Regions from separate parts of the Homo sapiens genome. Here regions 1 and 3 are each linked to region 2. The links are contacts of gene promoters, found by promoter capture Hi-C in blood cells and fetal thymus (Javierre and others, 2016). All regions are on one chromosome and are shown on one strand. Each heading gives the region's core, a stretch centred on a gene start or on the middle of the fragment in contact. The rest is flanking DNA. Distances are from core to core; before and after follow the strand shown. Region 1 holds the start of IGBP1 (immunoglobulin binding protein 1). Region 2 holds the start of FTX (FTX transcript, XIST regulator). Region 3 overlaps COX7B (cytochrome c oxidase subunit 7B).

Region 1 (4,360 bases), core at 599-3,098, 4.2 Mb after region 2:
TTCGGCAGCCTTCTCAAGGAGGTCCAAGCCCTTGAACACCTTCTCCTGGACTATCCGGGAACCGGCGGGTTCAGTCGCCACTTCTACTTCGTCCAGTAACTGTCTACCAGTTTCGAACAGCTCGGGGAGCCGCGGCAGCTGTAACTCGTCCTCAGCAGCCATCTTGGGGAGAGAGGAACCCGGAAGATCTCTTTTCCGGGGTCAAAGGCAACCTTGATAAAGAAGAATTAGGCGAGCGCGGACAAAACCGGAAGAAGCACCTCATTGGTCCAGTAGCTTCACTGTTAACAAAGCATCAAAGGACTTCCGGGAGCCGCTGTTAGCCGGCCCTGGCAACCGTTTCCATAGACTCATTTTACCAGGCAGCCCGTTACAAGTCGTAGGCATCTGTTAAAAGCAAACAAACAAGCAAAACCCTAGGCGCTGTTTTACCATGAGCTCCTCGTCGCCGACACGGGGCTGAGAAGTTCTGTGGGCTCTGAAGCCCGGGTGAGGCGAGGCTGAATTCGGAGCGCGAGGAGTGCGGACGAGCGAGTGCGTTTTAGGAGCCAGTCTGGCGCGCCCCTTACCTCGCGAGTAGCTCCCTAGGTTGAGGAGTCCAGGGACTCTAGCCGCCGCACCACTCCCACGGTTTGAAGATCCGGTCGCTTGAGCGCGAAGTGCAAGTAGCGCCCCCCTGCGGTTTCCGTCCACCCACCAGATGGAGCTCCGGGTTCCTCCCAGCCAATCCTCTCCCGTCCTCTTCCCCCTTCACCCCACACACGCCTACGACCCGTAGGCCGGCGTCCGGTGGAGCCCCCCTCAGCAAGATTGGCAACCTGCAACTCCGGTCACCGCACAGCCGGCTTCCCTTCGTGCACTTAGTTCCTACATCAAATGTTATTTCTGTGCAACCTTCCTTGTCTCTCTACCGCCTTCCACCCTGTGCCCTTCAGCCGCCAAGTCTGGGTTTCTCCTATGCATCTCTATCATGGCACCTACCACGCTGTATAATTGCTAGTGACTTACAAATCTCTCTTATCAGAATGAATTTGACTCATCTTTGCACCACTCTGGCTAGCCTGAGTACTCAGTATCAGTCATTATCTGAATAAAAAAAAAAAGTGATCAGTTTGGAAAGCAGCCAACTTATGCAGAACAGCATTGTTCAGTAGGTAGTTACTAGCTACATGTGGTTACTAAGCACTTGAAAGTGGCTATTTTGAATCGAGATGTGCTGCAAGTGTAAAAAACACCCCAGATTTCAAAGACATTTAAAAAAAAAAGAATGAAAAATGTAAATACTTTTTACATGGACTACATGTTGAAATGATAGTCTTTTGGATATGTTGGATTAAATATATTATTAGAATTAATTGTACTTCTTTCTTTTCACTTTGTAAATGTGCCTGCCAGATAATTTAAAACTATATTTGTAGCTCCCATTATATTTCTACTGGACAGAACTGATGGAAAACATAATTTCAGGACTTCAAAGAAGGGACGTCATTGTTTTGAACAAAGCAATATAAATACATACTGATTACCTTAGGACGCAGCCTGAATTGTCCTAGGAGATTTAAGTAGCAGGCACACTGTCTACCCCTGAAAATAAACTTTTAAACTAGTATTTTAAACTACATATCGTTGAGAAGAAAAAAAGCTTCATTAAAAAACAACTAGAGGGCAATATAGGACAGTATAAAATAGGTGATATGTTGTATTGCACAGGCTGTTGGAAAAGCAAGAAAGGGCAAGTCATCCCATGCTAGGAGTAGTTCAGAAGGCTTCTTAGACATGACATGCGGTCACATAGAAGAATGTCAAAGTTTAAAGGGAACCCCCAAAATCGGAGGAAAAACTTGAGACCAGAAAGGTTAAGGGACTTGTCCAGCCAGTTTGTGACAAAGTCAGTGACTTCTGCGTTCAATTGTTTCTACTCCATTAACCTTCAGTTGGGTAGGATTTAGAAAGATGAAGACCTTTAATGTGGGACAGATTGAAGCCCCAAACTAGAACAGTGCTTCCTAAGAGGGAGAGGAGGCTGTGGCACACATGTAGGTTGAAAAAGCTTCCCAGGTGATTCTAATAAACCTTCCCTTGCAACCCCTGCTTTATAAACTAAGAAGGAAGTGAGGCTTTGGCGAATTACCTATTTGGTTTATCTGGCACCTCTAGTAAACTGACCTTTCAGGGTCAGGCTTGGCAGGGAATATAAAGAAAAAGATAGTACTTGTGGAGGAGACTTAGAAATGTAGTAATTGTGAGAGTAAAGATAATTTGCTTCTCTGCATTTGCTTGGATTAAAACATGTCTTTACTGTTACTTAAGAGGAAAAAAATGTGCACAGTCTTAATTTGGTCTTAAACTTTGTAAGTCATTTTTTATGGCTTTCAAAATTAGTCTTTTTTTTTTTTTTTTTTTGAGACAGGGTCTCACTCTGCCACCCAGGCTGGAGTGCTGGAATGCATTGGCACGATCTTAGCTCACTGCAAACTCCGCCTCCTGGACTCAAGTGATCCTCTACCCTCAAGCCCCCCAATTAGCTGGGACTACAGGTGCAAGTCACCACTCCTGGCTAATTTTTGTATTTTTTTGTAGAGGCGGGGTTTCGCCATGTTGCCCAGGCTGATCTCAAACTCCTGAGGTCAAGTGATCCACCCGCTTCACCGTCCCAAAGTGTTGGGATTACAGACGTGATTCAGTGTGCCCAGCCAAAATGACGGTCTTTATGGGAGATGCCAATTACTTTCAGAGTGCCTGTTATATATTAGAGTTGTCATTTTAAGCATTGCATTTCATCTTATTCTGAAAGAATACCAAGATTAAAAAGTGGTTAGAAAAAAAGGAATAATGGCCGGGCGTGGTGGCTCATGCCTGTGATCCCAGCACTTTGGGAGGCCGAGGTGGGCAGCTCACCTGAGGTCAGGAGTTCAAGACCAGCCTGGCCAACATGGTGAAACCCTGTCTCTACTAAACATACAAAAATTAGCTGGGCATGGTGGCGCGGGCCTGTAACCCCAGCTACTCCGGAGGCTGAGGCAGTGAGCCGGGAGGCAGAGGCTGCAGCGAGCCGAGATCACACCACTGCACTCCAGCCTGGGCGACAGAGCGAGACTCTGTCTCACAAAAAAGAAAGAAAAAAAGGAATAATAAAAACGAGTCGTTTGCTGTGTTTTGTGTGTAAACACTTTATCATATTAAACTCCTGTTGTGCATGGGAGACTTTTTAAAATCCTAGTTTAGGGCACTTAACAATCATGAAAGTATAACGGTACTTAAACTTTTTGTAGTAGCATAATTCTTTTTCCAAAACAAGTTTTAGAGAGCCTGTAATTTCTAAAAGGACTGATGTATTTGAAGAGGATACAAAGAAGCCTGCCAACTCAGCCACTGGCCCATCTTCCTCAACCTGCTCAGTGAGTGGCACTCCAGGTGAGGGACTCAAGGGCTCTAAGTAACACAATATAAAAAGCATTAATCTGGCCAGGTGCAGTGGCTCCCGCCTGTAATCCCAACACTTTGGGAGGCTGAGGTGGGAGGATCCCTTTAGCCCAACTCTGCTACTGAATAGCTGTGGGACCTTGGAGAAATTCCTTCCTTTGCTCTTTCCATACATGCTGTGTGCTACCTGAATGCTAGGCATTGAGAATTCGAACACTACCCGAGGTTTAAGCTCTTAAGGGGTCCATAGTTCCACGGAAGAGACAGGTAAACAAATAATCAAATGTTAATTTGATAAATATTTTGATAAAGGTGTGTTCAAGGTGTTAGAGGAATGGAGAGAATAACTTTGGCCCGGAGGGGCATTCTGTTAAAGGTCAAACTCAATAACATGACTTTAAGATCCTTTCTAATCTGCCTGCTGACATCCTTTTCATTTTGTTCCTTCGTGGATCCTAAGCTGAATCTTTAGCAAACTCTCCTAGTTCTCCAAACCTATCATGTTCTCTTAGGCCTTCATGCATTCACATAGGTGGTACCTTCTGCCTGGAATGTCATCTTCCTTGTCTGTGCCTGGCAAATTTCTATTCATTACTCATAACTTGGCTCAAAGATCACTTGCTCTGGGAAGCACTTCCTGATTTTCCCCTGTAGGCGAGGCTACCTCCTTCTTAGCTCTTATAGCATTTGATTCATCCCCCTGTGATAGTACTGTACTGTGGTTATCTTTATCCACACCTGTCTCTCACTAAACTGAGAGCTCTTTAAGGCCAGGGAGAGTGTCTTACTCATCTTTGTTCACTCTAGCACAGAACCTGCCACCCAGTAGGTAGGAGAGACTCAATGTTAAATGAATAACTTTGTATCATAATAATACCTAACCTTCTCTGAGCGCTCACATCCTGCCAAGTGACTATGCTAAGTACTTTACATGTGA
Region 2 (4,241 bases), core at 1,554-4,053:
TCTACTAAGAATACAAAAATTAGCCGGGCGTGGTGGCGGGCGCCTGTAATCCCAGCTACTCAGGAGGCTAAGACAGGAGAATCGCTTGAACCTGGGAGGCAGAGATTGCAGTGAGCCGAGATCGTGCCATTGCACTCCAGCCTGGGCCACAGAGCAAGACTGTCTCAAAAAAAAAAAAAAGTTAATGTTAAAACATTATATATACATTTTTTCTTTTTCTTTCTTTCCTTTTTTTTTTTTTTTGAGATGGAGTTTCACTCTATCACCCAGGCTGGAGGGCAGTGGCATGATCTCGGCTTACTATAACCTCTGCCTCCCAGGTTCAAGCGAGTCAGCTGCCTCAGCCTCCCGAGTAGCTGGGATTACAGGTGCCCGCCACCACGCCCAGCTAATTTTTGCATGTTTAGTAGAGACGGGGTTTCACCATGTTGGCCAGGCTGGTCTTGAACTCCTGACCTTAACTGATCTGCCTGCCTTGGCTTCCCAAAGTACTGGGATTACAGGTGCGAGCCACTGTGCTTGGCCCCCACCTCTTTTTTTTTTTTTTTTTAAATAGAGACAGGGTATTGCTATGTTGCCAAGGCTGGTTTCGAACTTGTGGTCTCAGGCAATCTTCCTGCATTGGCCTCCCAAAGTGCTGGGATTACAGGCATGAGCCACCACGCCCAGCCAAAACATTATATATTTGAACAAAAATCATAAGAGAACACAAAGATGCTTGCTATGGTTTGAATATGTCTCTCAAAGTTCATATGTTGGAAATTTGATGCCCCATGTGGTGGTGTTGGGAGGTGAGGCTTAAAGGGAGGTGTTTGAGTCATGGGGGCACCACTCTTATGAATAGCTTAATGCTATTATTGAGGGAGTGGGTTTGTTATTTCAGTAGTGGGTTCCTTATTAAAGGATGAGTTCTGGCCCCCTCTTGCGCGCACTCTCTCTTTCTCTATCTCTTTGCCCTTCCACCATGGGATGATGTAGCAGGAAAGCCACTGTCAGATGCCAGCTCCTCAGTCTTGGACTTCCCATTCTCCAGAACTGTGAGGAAATAAATTTCTGTTCTTTATAAATTGCCGAGTCTGCAGTATTTTGTTACAGTGGTACATAATGGACTAAGACAATACTAATGGGTATGAAGTTTCTTTTTGGGGTGATGAAAATATTCTAAAATTGATTGTAGTGGTGGCTGCATAATTCTGTGAATATACTAAAATCCATTGCATTGTACACTTTAAGTTGGTTAACTGTATGATATGTAAATTATATATTAATAAAACCATTAAAACAGAAAAATAACAGAGATAAGAGCATTTGTTAAAATAGTGTTGTAGAATTTGGGGTAAAATTTCTTATATTTTAACTTTTGTGTAATAATAAATGATTATTTTAATTTAGAAGAGGTTCTTTGTACCACTGAGATTTCGGCATTTCTTTTTTATTTAATGCATGCCTATTTCTCTTTTTTCTTCTTCATATGCACATTGTTGTATAATTTTTTGGGCGTATTATATAACAAATGCAAACCCATTTTTCTCTGAATAATGTTGATATAACATTCTTAAGTTAATTTGAGAGGATGGTGATGTATAAGTTTATGAGTTTTAGGATTTATGAATTTGCGGGTCTCAGTTTTTGGTATTTCCAAACTGGCTCTTTTAGAAAGCAATAAGAACCAGACACCAAAGTAAAACATAATAAAGAGAAACAAAATATTATTTTGTATTCTTTCTAGTTCACACCCAAAGAGGGATCTATTTCAGAGCCTCTTAAGTAAATAATGCCATTTCCCTCAAAATTAATATTTGAGTTCTTACAGAAGACAAGAACAGGCCTTGTAGTAAGCAGTGAAGGACATTGAATCTCATTTTTAATGTCCAGACAATACCAGGGTTGTGAATAGAAAGAAAAGAGCTTTCCATGTTGGTGGTCTACTGCCTCTTACCCCCAAATTGATTGAACACTTTTGCAGTTTTTGTTCTGGTTCCCTGTCTCTGGATCTTCCCTGTGGGTCATCATCAAAAAGGTGTTCTCTTTGCCCAAGACAGGCTGGTTGAGCTCACCCTGAGAGCTGCTTTGGAGAGGATGTGTGGAAATATTTTTTTTCTTTTTTTGAGATGGGGTCTCACTCTGTTGCCCAGGCTGGCAACATCATAGCTGGCACAATCATAGCTCACTGTAGCCTCGACTTCCTGGGCTCGAGTGATTCTTCCACCTCAGCCTTCTGAATAGCTGGGAGTACAGGTGCGCACCACCACGCCCGGCTAATTTTTGTATTTATTTGTAGAGACGGGGTTTCGCCATGTCACCCGAGCTGGTCTCGAACTCCTGAACTCAAGGGTTCCGTCCACCTCGGCCTCCCAAAGTGCTGGGATTACAGGTGTGAGCCACCGCGCCCGGGCTACAATTATTTAAAAAAAAATTTTTGCGGTAATTTTTACAAATTTCAACATCAGGCATAGGAGGAGAGGAGTAAGAGGCCCAAGAGGGCTGCAGACTGGCAGGGAAAGTGAAGAATTGAAGGGTAGACCACTAACGATAGCAGAGGAAATAAAGGTAGATGGTGGGCTAAGAATAATGGGAGAGGGATTGACGAAAGAAGTATGGGCTGAGGGAGGGATGATGGTGGAGGCCAGTGTGACCGAGGGGAGGGGAAAGGTGGAAGAAGCAGAGTGGGATAGCGTCCTGGGAAAGAAGTGAAGGAGGTCGGTGGACCGCTAAGGGTTAGACTCCTAGAGGCTGGAGAGCGGCGCGTGGGGGAGGCGGGGCGCGGAGGGGGGGTTAAGGGGCGTTAGCAGCGCATGCGCTGGAAGCACACTGCGGCGATTCTGGAGAGGTTGTCCTTTTCTGGCATCAGCGTTGCGGCTCGAGGCAAAGCTGGTCCTGTGCCTGCTGTCCATTGCCGCTAAGGCCTGCTGCTGCCATTCAGGCGTGTCTCTCTCTCTCTCTCTCTTTCATGCCGCTCTCTCCACCCCATCTTGGGACGGCCAGCTCTAAGAATTCCTGCTACGACACTGAATTCAACCAGGAGGTAAAGGAACGATGTAGGGGAAGAACAGAACATGGAGGGCGGCGGAGGGAACTTGGGCCAGGAAGATCCTTAATTTGTGCATTTTTCCAGTTCACGGGAGGAAAAAATGGAATACGTTACAGGCCCCAGTTTTCCAAAAGGATGTTGAGCATTTGCTTCCCATTGTGAAAGGAATGCGGGTTCCTTTCCTCTAACTAGAGTCAAGGCACCTGAGCATCGGTGTTTTCCATAATGTTCCCTGTTTAAAACATTTGTGGTTCGTCATTTGTAGCAGATGTATTTAAAGGGCGAGGCCTTAGGATTATGTTCATCCGATGGTTTGTGAAAGTTTTCCTTGCCTTTGTTCAGGTTGACCGGTCTTATGTGAATCCTGGGGTACTCTAGCCCCCTCCCTTGGAGTTGGGACCGATTCCATCTAGATCTGGGATTCACTCTGATCACCTGCAACGCCTTCTTTCCCCGATTCAACTTCCCTAGTTTATCGCATCTACTCGCATTAGGGAAGGCTGGTAATGGCTCTCCTTGGGCACTGGGGCAGAATTGTGGCGAGAAACACGTCCAGATAGCATCAGGCATGCATACTGTATACAAATGGGAGCAAGAAGAGAGAGGACTATCGCGGTGCGCAGGGTATTTGAGAGGCTGGATGAGGAGGCGCGGCGCCGAGGGGCGGCGCTCAAGCTTACAGTATTTGAGAAGACCTGAGTTAAGGGGACGGGCTCCAGTGGGGCGGGGGTGGGGAGAGGGAGGCACGCATGCGCAAGGCTTGAATGGCGTCGGGGTTGGAGGGTTGGAAGGTCGGGAAGTGAAGGACTCGCAGGCATATTTAACAACGCAAAGTTGCTAGGAGTTGGTACCAGCGTTTGGGAGGTAGAGGTGGCGCTCATGCATATTTGAGACAACATCTGGATGGTTGGGGAGAACGGTAAGGAGGAAGCGGCGCGCATGCGTATTTCAGACGGAGTGCCGGGGAGGGGAGGCGCTCAGCATTCGGGTAATTAAGGTTGCAAAATGGCGAGGGGGGAGGTAAGCTGTCTTTGCTTGGCCATCTTGGGCTAGCAGGCCTTGCAGAGAACTACCTTTTTAGCTGAGTGAAGGGATCAACCTGAGTTGGAGTTCTCCTATGCTGTGGCCAGATCCACTAGAAATTAACCCAGAATCTTAGCCTCTCAGTGGCCTATCGGTAAGTGGGTACAAAAATGAGGAGGCGATGATG
Region 3 (3,937 bases), core at 1,401-3,900, 3.6 Mb before region 2:
GCCATTTAAGGGCTGGGTGCCGTGGCTCACGCCTGTAATCCTACCACTTTGGGAGGCCAAGGCAGGCGGATCACCTGAGGTCGTGAGTTTGAAACCAGCCTGACCAATATGGTGAAACCCTGTCTCTACTAAAAATACAAAAATTGCCGGGCACGGTGGCTCACACCTGTAATCCCAGCACTTTGGGAGACCAAGGTGGGTGGATCACGAGATCAGGAGCTCGAGACCAGCCTGACCAACATGGTGAAACCCCGTCTCTACTAAAAATACAAAAATTAGCCGGGCCTGGTGGCGTGCACCTGTAATCCCAGCTACTTGGAAGGCTGAGACAGGAGAATCGCTTGAACCCGGGAGGCGGAGGTTGCAGGAGCCGAGATCACGCCATTGCATTCCAGCCTGGGCAACAGAGTGAGACTCCGTCTCAAAAAAAAAAAAAATTAGCTGGGCGTCATGGCATGTGCCTGTAGTTCTGGCTACTCGGGAGGCTGAGACAGGAGAATCACTTGAACTCAGGAGGCAGAGGTCGCAGTGAGCTGAGATGGTGCCACTGCACTCCAGCCTGGGGGACAAAGTGAGACTTCGTCCCAAAAAAAAAAAAAAAAAAAAAAAAAAACCTATTTAAGAAGCTGCACAGCATTTGACTTTAATATTAACATAAAGGCTAAAGTGATCAAGCTTAGTTTCATTTACAAAGAAACAAAACCTACAATGAAGGTTTCAAATGTACTTTATTTCTTCAATAATGCCATATCTTAATGGGTACACAGTGCTTTAATTTGGCATCAATTATGAGCTGTTTTTTAAACAATTCATTATTACACCAGCTGGGATGATTACTGATTCCTCCATTCCTTTGGGGTAACTCTGCCAACAGGGGACAGGTTCCATTCTATTCCGACTTGTGTTGCTACCTGTAAGAATTAAAATGCTGTCAGTTACGTGTTTAAACCAGAGTACACTCTCTCGGAGACTATTTCTTGAAAATGACAGATATTCTGTTCTATAGGTTAAAAATACACAGAAACTCACCTGGGATCTAATACCCTCCATATAGGCCAAACCTGATTGCTGTCCTAATTTTCTAGAGCAGTCCTGTTGTTCAATAGAACTTCTTGAGCTGAAGGAAATGTTCTAGATCTTCACTGTTAAAAACAGTAGTCACTAGCTACATGTGGCTACTAGCCACCTGGAATATGACTAGTATCACCAAGGAAATGAATTTTTAAATTTTATTTAATTCAAATTTATACTTCACATTTCTATACTACCCACTCAATACACTGATTCCCTCAACCACAACTACCTAAGTAACTGCCAGAGTATTTTATATTCTCTGTATCACTAAGGAACATTTCACCTCCAAAAGCTCCTCTGATCAAACATTTGTTCAACATCTGTTTATCCTTCTAATTAAGCACACTTTAATTTTTTTTTTGAGACTTTTTTTTTTTTTGAGACAGTCTCGCTTTATCGCCCAGGCTAGAGTACAGTGGCACGATCTCAACTCACTGCAACCTCCACCCCCTCCAACTTCAGGCGATTCTCCTGCCTCAGCCTCCCAAGTAGCTGGGACTACAGGTGCCCACCACCACGCCCGGCTAATTTTTGTATTTTTAGTAGAGATGGGGTTTCACCATGCTAGTACCAAACTCCTGACCTCAGGTGATCCACCCGCCAGGGCCTCCCAAAGTGCTAGGACTACAGGCGTGAGCCACCATGCCCAGCCTAGGCACACATCTTAATATTTGATTTCAGGAAGATCAAAACAAAAACTAAAAAGGCCTATTTATTTAAATAAAGTTTATTACATTAAGGATTAATTTGTATCTTTTTAAACCAACTTATGCATTTATTAAGACTTCGGGCCGGGCGCAGTGGCTCACGCTTGTAATCCCAGCACTTTGGGAGGCCGAGGTGGGTGGATCACGAGGTCAGGAGATCGAGACCATCCTGGCTAACACGGTGAAACCCCATCTCTACTAAAAATACAAAAAATTAGCCGGGCATGGTGGTGGGCACCTGTAGTCCCAGCTACTCGGAAGGCTGAGGCAGGAGGATGGCGTGAACCCGGGAGGCGGAGTTTGCAGTGAGCAGAGATCGCGCCACTGCACTCCAGCCTGGGCGACAGAGCAAGATTCCATCTCAAAAAAAAAAAAAACAAAAAACAAAACAAAAAAAAAAAACACAGACTTCAGGACTCCTACTTTTAGCCAGTAAGTAACAGTGACTGAAAGATAGATTGTTAAATGTAAGATGTAAAGAAACTAAAATATAAAAAGATACATTACATCTCATCTGTCACGAATACTGTGCTAAGTTCTGAGTGTAAAATTTTAAAAGAAAAATTGTTAAGTGAAGTTATGTCCAGGAAGGCGATCCAAGACAGTAAAAATCCTGGAAACCATGAACAAAAAAATTACTGATAGAACTAAGGATGTTTAATTTGAAAAAGAAAATTGAGGAGATATGATAGCAATTTTCTATTATCTGATGGCTGTTATATGGAAGTGGGTCAGAATTTCTGTGCTTCAATGAACAATGGGTAGCATAGGAAAAAGGCAGATTTTAACTCACCATATGATCCTTTTAACAGCTACACAAGGCTGGGCACAGTGGCTCACACCTGTAATCCTAGCACTTTGGGAAACCAAGGCGGGCGGATCACCTGAGGTCAGGAGTTCAAGACCAGCCTAACTAACATGGTGAAACCCCGTCTCTACTAAAAATACAAAAATCTGCCAGGCGTACTGGAGGGCGCCTGTAATCCCGCTACCTGGGAGGCTGAGACAGGAGAATCACTTGAACCCAGGAGGCAGAGGTTGCAGTGAGCCGAGATCGCGCCACTGCACTCCAGCCTGGGCAACAGAGCAAGACTCCGTCTCAAAAAAAAAAAAAAAAAAAAATAGCCAGGCCTGGTGGCACACACCTGTGGTCCCAGCTACTTGGGAGCCTGAGGCAGAAGAAGTGCTTGAACCCAGGAGGCAGAGGTTGCAGTGAGCCAAGATCGCACCACTGCACTCCAGCCTGGGGGACACAGCAAGACTTCTTCTTAAAAAAAAAAAAAAACAAAAACAAAAAAAACAGCTACACAAGATGGAAAGGGCTGCCTTGTGATCCAGTAAGCAATTTATTACTGGGAATGTTAAGAACAGAAGATGGATGAATGCTGGGGGGAAAAAATCCCCTGCACTGTGTGGGTAATTAGATTACACAATCTCTCAAGTCCCTCCTAACTAGATATGTACACTACTATGTTAAGACACTTTGAATGCATAGACTGAGAATGAAAAACATCTGAAACAGAAATTATTAATCAATAGTACTTACATATGTCCATGTAACAATACAGAAAGTGGCTCCACTAGCTAATACAGCATTACCGTATTTGTCATGAAAATCAGGTGTACGTTTCTGGTGGCTCTGCCTTGCCATTGTTTGCTGAATGCTTCGAACTTACAGGAAAACGAAAAAAGAATACAGAAGCATATTATCAATTGTCAGGTAAAGAAAACATATGTGATTGATACTGCCAATCAGGAAAGCCAAGGAAGTTAATTTTACAGTATTATGTAGTTCAATAAAATGTTAAAACATATTGTAGCTATTAAAGCAGTGTACTTTGAAATGCAACAAAAATAAGATGAATTGACAGATGGACAAATACATGATAAAACAAATAGCAAAATGTTAACTGTAGAATCTTTGTGGTGGGTATATGGGTGTTCATACGATTCTTCCAACTCTTCAGTATGTCTGAGAGTTTTCATAATAGTGTTGGGGGAAAAAAGCAAAGAATGAATGATGTCAGTAACATTCTCTACAAAGTGGTATTTGCATAACCCCTGAAATTTTGGCTCCCATTGATTAATTTGAATACTTATGACTTAAATTTTCATTAAAGTTTACTCAATAGAGCCCAACAACTTACAACATACAA

Evidence for each region. Contacts are between HindIII fragments. The CHiCAGO score rates a contact against its expected background, and 5 or more counts as called.
Region 1: a contact is called between a fragment that was not itself captured here and the fragment with the promoter of FTX in region 2, in 3 of 17 cell types (fetal thymus, total B cells and activated CD4 T cells). The highest score is 11.9, in fetal thymus.
Region 3: a contact is called between a fragment that was not itself captured here and the fragment with the promoter of FTX in region 2, in 1 of 17 cell types (neutrophils). The highest score is 5.9, in neutrophils.

The regions. Positions count from the first base shown.
Region 1 is chrX:70,129,750-70,134,109 of GRCh38, reverse strand. IGBP1 (immunoglobulin binding protein 1) reads right to left here and starts at 663. Exons shown (of 7, transcript NM_001551.3): 1 at 570-663; 2 at 1-387. The coding sequence starts at 162. RefSeq lists an enhancer at 1-244. The HindIII fragment of the contact is 408 bases long and covers 1,645-2,052 here.
Region 2 is chrX:74,292,136-74,296,376 of GRCh38, reverse strand. It overlaps FTX (FTX transcript, XIST regulator), which reads left to right and starts at 2,803. Exons shown (of 7, transcript NR_028379.1): 1 at 2,803-3,025. LOC124905199 (a long non-coding RNA gene) reads left to right here and starts at 3,781. Exons shown (of 2, transcript XR_007068266.1): 1 at 3,781-4,241. RefSeq lists an enhancer at 3,549-4,241. The HindIII fragment of the contact is 8,135 bases long and covers 1-3,708 here.
Region 3 is chrX:77,902,158-77,906,094 of GRCh38, reverse strand. It overlaps COX7B (cytochrome c oxidase subunit 7B), which reads right to left. Exons shown (of 3, transcript NM_001866.3): 2 at 3,328-3,452; 3 at 1-911. The coding sequence ends at 834. Among named protein-coding and RNA genes, the nearest start is that of COX7B, 4.7 kb to the right of the region's middle. The HindIII fragment of the contact is 3,945 bases long and covers 678-3,937 here.